Regions from separate parts of the Homo sapiens genome. Here all the other regions are linked to region 3. The links are contacts of gene promoters, found by promoter capture Hi-C in human tissues and cell types (Jung and others, 2019). All regions are on one chromosome and are shown on one strand. The core of a region is centred on a gene start or on the middle of the fragment in contact, and the rest is flanking DNA. Distances in the headings are between cores, read along the strand shown.

What was found. Contacts are between HindIII fragments. The study calls those that stand out against the background at their distance.
Region 1: a fragment that was not itself captured here is called in contact with the fragment with the promoter of CEP97 in region 3 in 1 of the 25 tissues and cell types used here (lymphoblastoid cells).
Region 2: a contact is called between a fragment that was not itself captured here and the fragment with the promoter of CEP97 in region 3, in 1 of the 25 tissues and cell types used here (lymphoblastoid cells).

What each region holds. Positions count from the first base shown.
Region 1 is chr3:102,107,117-102,109,816 of GRCh38, reverse strand. No RefSeq gene overlaps it. Among named protein-coding and RNA genes, the nearest start is that of RDUR, 170 kb to the right of the region's middle. The HindIII fragment of the contact is 5,825 bases long and covers 1-2,700 here.
Region 2 is chr3:102,039,737-102,042,436 of GRCh38, reverse strand. No RefSeq gene overlaps it. Among named protein-coding and RNA genes, the nearest start is that of RDUR, 100 kb to the right of the region's middle. The HindIII fragment of the contact is 3,296 bases long and covers 1-2,700 here.
Region 3 is chr3:101,723,282-101,725,990 of GRCh38, reverse strand. It overlaps CEP97 (centrosomal protein 97), which reads right to left and starts at 1,377. Exons shown (of 11, transcript NM_024548.4): 1 at 1,272-1,377. The coding sequence starts at 1,314. RefSeq lists enhancers at 1-510, 682-751, 1,032-1,401. The HindIII fragment of the contact is 12,301 bases long and covers 1-2,709 here.

The DNA.
Region 1 (2,700 bases), core at 103-2,602, 380 kb before region 3:
ACATTTTAAATTAACACTTAAAATCTTCTCATTATATATTTCTCAAGATGGTGGTGGTAAAATTTGTGTACCCATTTAATAATAATGCCTTTTTATATTGGTCTAACTTTTGCTAAGTTCAAGTACAAAAATATTTATGTCATGGGAAAAGCTACTTGCAAACCATATATCCGATAGGGAGTTAATATGCAAAATATATAAGAAACTCAGACAAACTCAATAGTAAGAAAACAAACCATTTAATAAATGAGAAAAGAATCTGAATAGATATTTCTCAAAACAAGGCACACAAATGGCCAATAGGCATATGAAAAAAATGCTCAGCATCACTAACCATCAGACAAATGCAAATTAAAACCACAATAAGATATCACTTCATACCTGTTAGAATGGCTATTATCAAAAAGACAAAAGATAAGTGTTGATGAGGATGTGGAGGAAAGGGAACACTTGCACGCTGTAGTGGTAATGTAAATTAGTACAGCCACTACGGAAAACAGTATGAAGCGTCCTCAAAAAGTTAAATAGAGAATTATCCTGTGATCCAGCAATCCCACTTCTAGGTATATATGTAAAGGAAATAAAATCAGTATGTCAAAGAGACAGCCATACTTCCATGTTTATTGCAGCATTATTCACAATAGCCAAGACATGAAGTCAACCTAGGTGTCCATCAAGGGATGAATGGATGAAGAAAATGAGGTACAAACAATGGAATACTAGTCAACCTTAAAACAGAAGAAAATCCTGTCATTTGTGACAACATGAATGAAATCAGAGGACATTATATTAAGTGAAATAAGCCAGGCACAGAAAGACAAATACAGGTATATCTTAATTTATTATACTTTGCTTTTTTCTACTCTGCAGATAGCGGGTTTTTTTATAAATTGAAGGTTTGTGGCAACCCAGTGTGGAGCAAGTCTATTGGCACCATCTTTCCAACAGCATGTGCTCACTTTGTGTCTGTGTGTCACATTTTGGTAATTCTCTCAATATTTCAAATGTTTTTATTATTATTATATCTTTTATGGTGATCTGTGATCAGTGATCTTTGATTTTACAATTGTTATTGTTATTGTTTTGGGGTGCCACAAACTGCACCTGTATAAAACGGTGAACTCATTAAATGTGTGTGCTCTGACTGGTCCACCAACCAGCTGATTCTCTGTTTCTTTCCATCTTCTCAGGCCTCCCTATACCCTAAGATACAATAATATGGAAATTAGGCCAATTATTAACCCTGCAATGACCTCTAAGCTATTCAAATGAAAGGAAGAGTCTCACATCCCTCACTTAAATCAAAAGCTATTAATAGAAATGATTAAGCTTAGTTAGAAAGGCGTGTCAAAAGCTGAGATTGGCCAAAAGCTAGGCCTCCTATGCCAAACAGTTAACCAAGTTGTGAATGCAAATAAAAAGTTCTTGAAGGAAATGTATAATGCTACTCTAATGAACACACAAATGATAAGAAAGCAAAAGAGTGCTATTGCTGATATGGAGAAAGTTTTAGAGGTCTGGATACAAGATCAAACCAGCCACCACATTCTCTTAAACTAAAGCCTAATCCAGGGTAAGGCCTTAACTGTCTTCAATTATAAGAAGGCTGAGAAAGAGGTGAGGAAGCTACAAAAGAAAAGTTGGAACCTAGCAGAGGTTGGTTCATGAGGTTTAAGGAAAGAAGTTGTCTCCTTAACTTAAAAGTGCAAGGTAAAGCAGCAAGTGCTGGTGGAAAAACTGCAGCATGTTATCCAGAAGACCTAGCTAAAATCATTGCTAAAGGTAGCTACACTAAACAACAGATTTTCAATGCAGATGAAACAGCCTTCTATTGGAAGAAGATGTCATCTAGGCTGTTAATAGCTAAACAGAAGTAAATGCCTGGCTTCAAAGTTTCAAAGAATAATAATCTGACTCTCTTGTTAGGAGCTAATGCAGCTGGTGACTTTAATTTGAAGCCAAGATTCATTTACTATTCCGAAATATCCTAGGGCCTTTAAGAATTATGCTAATTTTCTCTGCCTGTGCTCTATCAATGAAGCAACAAAGCGTGGATGACAGCACAACTGTTTACAGCAGGGTTTACTGAATATTTTAAGCCCACTGTTGAGACCTACTGCTCAGAAAAAAAAGATTCATTTTAAAATATAATTGCTTATTGACAAGGCTCTTCTAGTCACTCAAGAGCTTGATGAAAGTGTGCAAGACTAATGTTTTTATGCCTGCTAACCATTCTGCAGCCCATGGATCAAGGAGTAATTTCAACTTTCAAGTAATATTATTTTAGAAATACATTTCACAGGGCTATAGCTGCTATAGATGATTCTGTTAATGGACCTGGGCAAAGTCAACTGAAAACCTTCTGGGAAGGATTCACTATTCTAGATGCCATTAACAACACTTATGATTCATGGGAAGAAGTCAAAATAACAACATTAATGGGAGTTTAGAAGAAGTTCATTCTAGCCCTCCTGGATGACTTTGAAGGGGTCCAAAAATTCAGTGGAGGAAGTAACTGCAGAGTTGGTAGAAATAGTAAGAGAACTAGAATTAGAAGTGAAGCCTGAAGATGTGATTTAATTGCTGCAATTTTATGATAAAACTTGACTGGGTGAAGAGTTCCTTCTTATGGATGAGCAAAGAAAGTAGTTTCTTTAAATGGTATCTACTCCTGATGAAGATCCTATGAACATTGTTGAA
Region 2 (2,700 bases), core at 79-2,578, 320 kb before region 3:
GTCTCTTTGTAGGTCACTAAGGACTTGCTTTATGAATCTGGGTGCTCCTATATTGGGTGCATACATATTTAGGATAGTTAGCTCTTCTTGTTGAATTGATCCCTTTTCCATTATGTAATGGCCTTCTTTGTCTCTTTTGATCTTTGTTGGTTTAAAGTCTGTTTTATCAGAGACTAGGATTGCAACACCTGCCTTTTTTTGTTTTCCATTTGCTTGGTAGATCTTCCTCCATCCCTTTATTTTGAGCCTACGTGGGTCTCTGCATGTGAGATGGGTTTCCTGGATACAGCGCACTGATGGGTCTTGACTTTTTAACCAATTTGCCAGTCTGTGTCTTTTAATTGGAGCATTTAGCCCATTTACATTTAAGGTTAATATTGTTATGTGTGAATTTGATCCTGTCATTATGATGTTAGCTGGTTATTTTGCTCATTAGTTGATGCAGTTTCTTCCTAGCCTTGATGGTCTTTACAATTTGGCATGTTTTTGCAGTGGCTTTTGCTGGTTGTTCCTTTCCATGTTTAGTGCTTCCTTCAGGAGCTCTTTTAGGGCAAGCCTGGTGGTGACAAAATCTCTCAGCATTTGCTTGTCTGTAAAGGATTTTATTTCTCCTTCACTTATGAAGCTTAGTTTGGCTGGATATGAAATTCTGGCTTCAAAATTCTTTCCTTTAAGAATGTTGAATATTGGCCCCCACTCTCTTCTGGCTTGTAGAGTTTCTGCTAAGAGATCAGCTGTTAGTCTGATGGGCTTCCCTTTGTGGGTAACCTGACCTTTCTCTCTGGCTGCACTTAACATTTTTTCCTTCATTTCAACCTTGGTGAATCTGACAATTATGTGTCTTGGAGTTGCTCTTCTCAAGGAGTATCTTTGTGGCATTCTCTGTATTTCCTAAATTTGAATGTTGGCCTGCCTTGCTAGATTGGGGAAGTTCTCCTGGATAATATCCTGCAGACTGTTTTCCAACTTTGTTCCATTCTCCCTGTCACTTTCACGTACACCAATCTGACGTAGATTTGCTCTTTTCACATAGTCCCATATTTCTTGGAGGCTTTGTTGATTTCTTTTTATTCTTTTTTCTCTAAACTTCTCTTCTTGCTTCATTTCATTCATTTCATCTTCCATCACTGATATCCTTTCTTCCAGTTGATCGAATCGGCTACTGAGGCTTGTGCATTCATCATGTATTTCTCGTGCCATGGTTTTCAGCTCCATCAGGACCTTTAAGGAATTATCTGCATTGGTTATTCTAGTTAGCCATTCGTCTAATTTTTTTTCAAGGTTTTTAACTTCTTTGCAATGAGTTCGAACTTCCTCCTTTAGCTCAGAGTAGTTTGATCATCTAAAGCCTTCTTCTCTCAACTCGTCAAAGTCACTCTCCATCCAGCTTTGTTCCATTGCTGGTGAGGAGCTGCGTTCCTTTGGAGGAGGAGAGGTGCTCTGATTTTTACAATTTTCAGTTTTTCTGCTCTGTTTTTTCCCCATCTTTGTGGTTTTATCTACCTTTGGTCTTTGATGATGGTGATGTACAGATGGGGTTTTGGTGTGGATGTCCTCTCTGTTGGTTAGTTTTCCTTCTAACAGTCAGAAACCTCAGTTGCAGGTCCATTGGAGTTTGCTAGAGGTCCACTCCAGACCCTGTTTGCCTGGGTATCAGCAGTGGAGGCTGCAGATCAGTGAATATTGGTGAACAGCAAATGTTGCTGGCTGATCGTTCCTCTGGAAGTTTTGTCTCAGAGAGGTACCCAGCCATGTGAGGTGTCAGTCTGCCCCTACTGGGGAGTGCCTCCCAGTTAGGCTACTCAGGAGTCAGGGACCCACTTGAGGAGGCAGTCTGTCCATTCTCAGATCTCAAGCTGCATGCTGGGAGAACCACTACTGTCTTCCAAGCTGTCAGACAGGGACATTTAAGTCTGCAGAGGTTTCTGCTGCCTTTTGTTTGGCTATGCCCTGCCCCCAGAGGTGGAGTCTGCAGAGGCAAGCAGGCCTCCTTGAGCTGCGGTGGGCTCCACCCAGTTCAAGCTTCCTGGCCACTTTGTTTACCTGCTCAAGCCTCAGCAATGGCGTGTTCCCCTCCCCCAGCCTCACTGCCGCCTTGTAGTTTGATCTCAGACTGCTGTGCTAGCAACAAGCGAGGCTTCGTGGCCATAGGACCCTCCAAGCTAGGTGCGGGATATAATCTCCTGGTGTGCCATTTGCTAAGACCATCGGAAAAGTGCAGTATATGGGTGGGAGTGACCTGATTTTCCAGGTGCCGTCTGTCACCCCTTTTCTTGGCTAGGAAAGGGAATTCCCTGACCCCTTGTGCTTCCCGGGTGAGGCAATGCCTCACACTGCTTCGGCTCACACTTGGTGCACTGCACCCACTGTCCTGCACCCACTGTCTGACAATCCCCAGTGAGATGAACCTGGTACCTCAGTTGGAAATGCAGAAATCATCTGTCTTCTGCATTGCTCGTGCTGGGAGCTGTAGACTGGAACTGTTCCTACTTGGCCATCTTGGAACCGCCCCCTCTTCCACTTATTATTCACTGGCCAGAACTAGGCATGTGGCCCCAACTGAAAGGCAAAAGAGGCTAGAAAATAAATGGAAACACATACAATGTTTGGTGAGCACTAGCTCTTTATGTCACAAGTGAATAGACTACATACTATAATAATTTTAATTTTTAAAAAATGGTTATCTCAGGATAACTTTAT
Region 3 (2,709 bases), core at 128-2,627:
TAGGCAAATTATTGATTTCTTTTGGGCTCCCTTTTCTACTCTGTAAAGTGGGGATAATACCTGCCTTATAAATGTAGTTCTACAGAGAAAATGAGATAATGTAAAAAAAAAAACAAAAAAAAAAAGGACTGAGAACATCGCCTGGGTCATACAAAGTGCTCTGTAAATGTTAACTGCTATTAACAGTTAAGTAGCCCTGGTGGGCTTGAGAGGTGTGGTTTAAGAAAAGCCGATCTCCAAAGAGGGCGGGGCCAGAGAAACGGCCAATTTCAAATTTACACCCAGATTAGGACTACTGCAGGAAATAATTATGCCAGATTGCTCTCCTGGAGGATTTCAACGTTTTCCCGTTGTCTAATGGCTCTTAGCATGTGAGGAGTCGTGAGCCCCTCTGAAAAATTGATGAAAGGGGTGTGCTGTCTCAGAAAAGTGCACAGCCTTTGTACACAATTCCAAGGGGTCGACAGAGAGGTCTGAGAACCATCCACCAACTCTTCCCCCAAGAATTTACAGCTCCCAGAAAATGCACTCCTGGTCTAAGCCATGAAGACGGGCCTCGACCCCTGGGCCCTGTCCCCGATTTAGAGGACTGACTGCTGCCAAGCCTCGGAGCTGTAACCAAAACAAAAGCAGCTCGCGTCCGGCGCCCCAAAGAGGTAGGTATCTTCAGGCCACAGAAGCACCCACACAGTCCTGTGCTCTACTGGGCAGCGACCAAACTCGATCCTAGGACCCGTGTGCAAGAACAAGGAGTACAGAACTGCGGGCTCTGGATCATCCCTTAGATTTTATCACGGCCACTGGCCACCTCCGAGGAAGGGTTCAAAGCCAGACTAGGCAGCGGTCTCTGAGGGAAGGTTTTCCTGATGGTTCCAGGAACCAAGAAGAGAGGGAGATGTGTGAAGCGAAAGAGGGAGATCCCAAACATTTCGCTTAGGCACCCATGACTCAAAGTAAATGGTCAAGAAAGGTCATCGCAGCCCGAAATCCACCGCCTCCTCAGCATCGGGAGCGCGGGAGCCAGGGCGCCGGGCCGCGCGAAGGCTTCTGGGGGCTGTAGTCCCCCGCTCGGCCCTCACCGCGACGCCGGAGAGCTGGGAACGGCAGGTGAACTACAACTCCCAGAGGGTAGCCCGCCTCCGCGACGACCACAGATCCGCATCAAAAGAACTGGTCCAGAACTGCACATCTAAACCTAGGTTTTCTGCTCTCCACTATTTAATTCAGCTCCGTGAAGTAAACCTTAGGACTCGGGGTAGGGATCGCCTTACCTTCTCCGGGAGGCAAAGCCGCGTCCACGCGCGCCACCGCCATATTTGCTGCTTGCTAATAATACCAGGCAACCGTCCTCCCGCGGCTCTGTGGAGCTTGTAATCTGAAGGAGGGAGCCGGAAACTATAACTCCCAGGATGCACGGCTCCCAGACGGCCCAATTGGCTGCTTACGCCTAATGATGTGAAGCTGGAGTTAGAATCTGAGGGTAGTGAGCTCAGGGACCCTGGCCCACTCGCTTATTTGACAGATGAGTCAACTGCGTTATTAGATGATCATTTCACTTCCTTGTCCAGGCGTTTGCGAAATTTGACACTTTTACCATCGGGATGATTGTAAGGAAGCTACTTAATGCAGACTGCATTTTACAACTCATTGCTGGAAGTCTCTGTGGGGGCTGCTCCATTCTTTTGATAATTGTGAATAAGTTGAAAGTTTTCAACTCCGCTATAGGAATGACCGATCTTGTTGAGATCATAAAAGTGGATACATTTTATTTGAAATTTTAGTTAAGTAAAAGTAAAGTATGCCGAAATAGAAACTTTTATACAGTATTTTTAAGTGATTGTTTGATTGTTCTTGAATATTTGACAAATCTTTTGACTTACGGGTATAAGTATGAACCAAGAACTTTTCCAGGGAGTATTCAAAATAACTTTAAAATATAATCTCCAGGCCGGGCGCAGTGGTTCACGTCTGTAATCCCAGCACTTTGGGAGGTCAACGCAGGCTGATCACCTGAGGTCGGGAATTCGAGACCCGCCTGGCCAACATGGAGAAACCCCGTCTGTAGTAAAAATACAAAAAAATTAGCCTGGCGTGGCGGCGCATGCCTGTAATCCCAGGTACTCGGGAGGCTGAGGCAGGAGAATCGCTTGAACCCGGGAGGCAGAGGTTGCAGTGAGCCGATATCATGCCACTGCACTCCAGCCTGGGCAACAAGAGCGAAACTATGTCTCAAAAATATATATATTTTATATAGATATTGCATATATTATAATTATATATAAATTATATATTATATATGTTATATATTTAGATATTATATATTATATGTTATATATTTAGATATTATATATTATATATGTTATATATTTAGATATTATATATTATATATGTTATATATTTAGATATATTATATATGTCATATATTTATATATTATATATTATATATGTTATATATTTAGATATTATATATTATATATGTCATATATTTAGATATTATATATTATATATGTTATATATTTAGATATTATATATTATATATGTTATATATTTAGATATATATGTTATATGTTATATATTTATATATTATATATGTTATACATTTATATATTATATATGTTATATATTTATATATTATATATTATATATGTTATATATTTATATATTATATATTATATATGTTATATATTTATATATTATATATTATATATG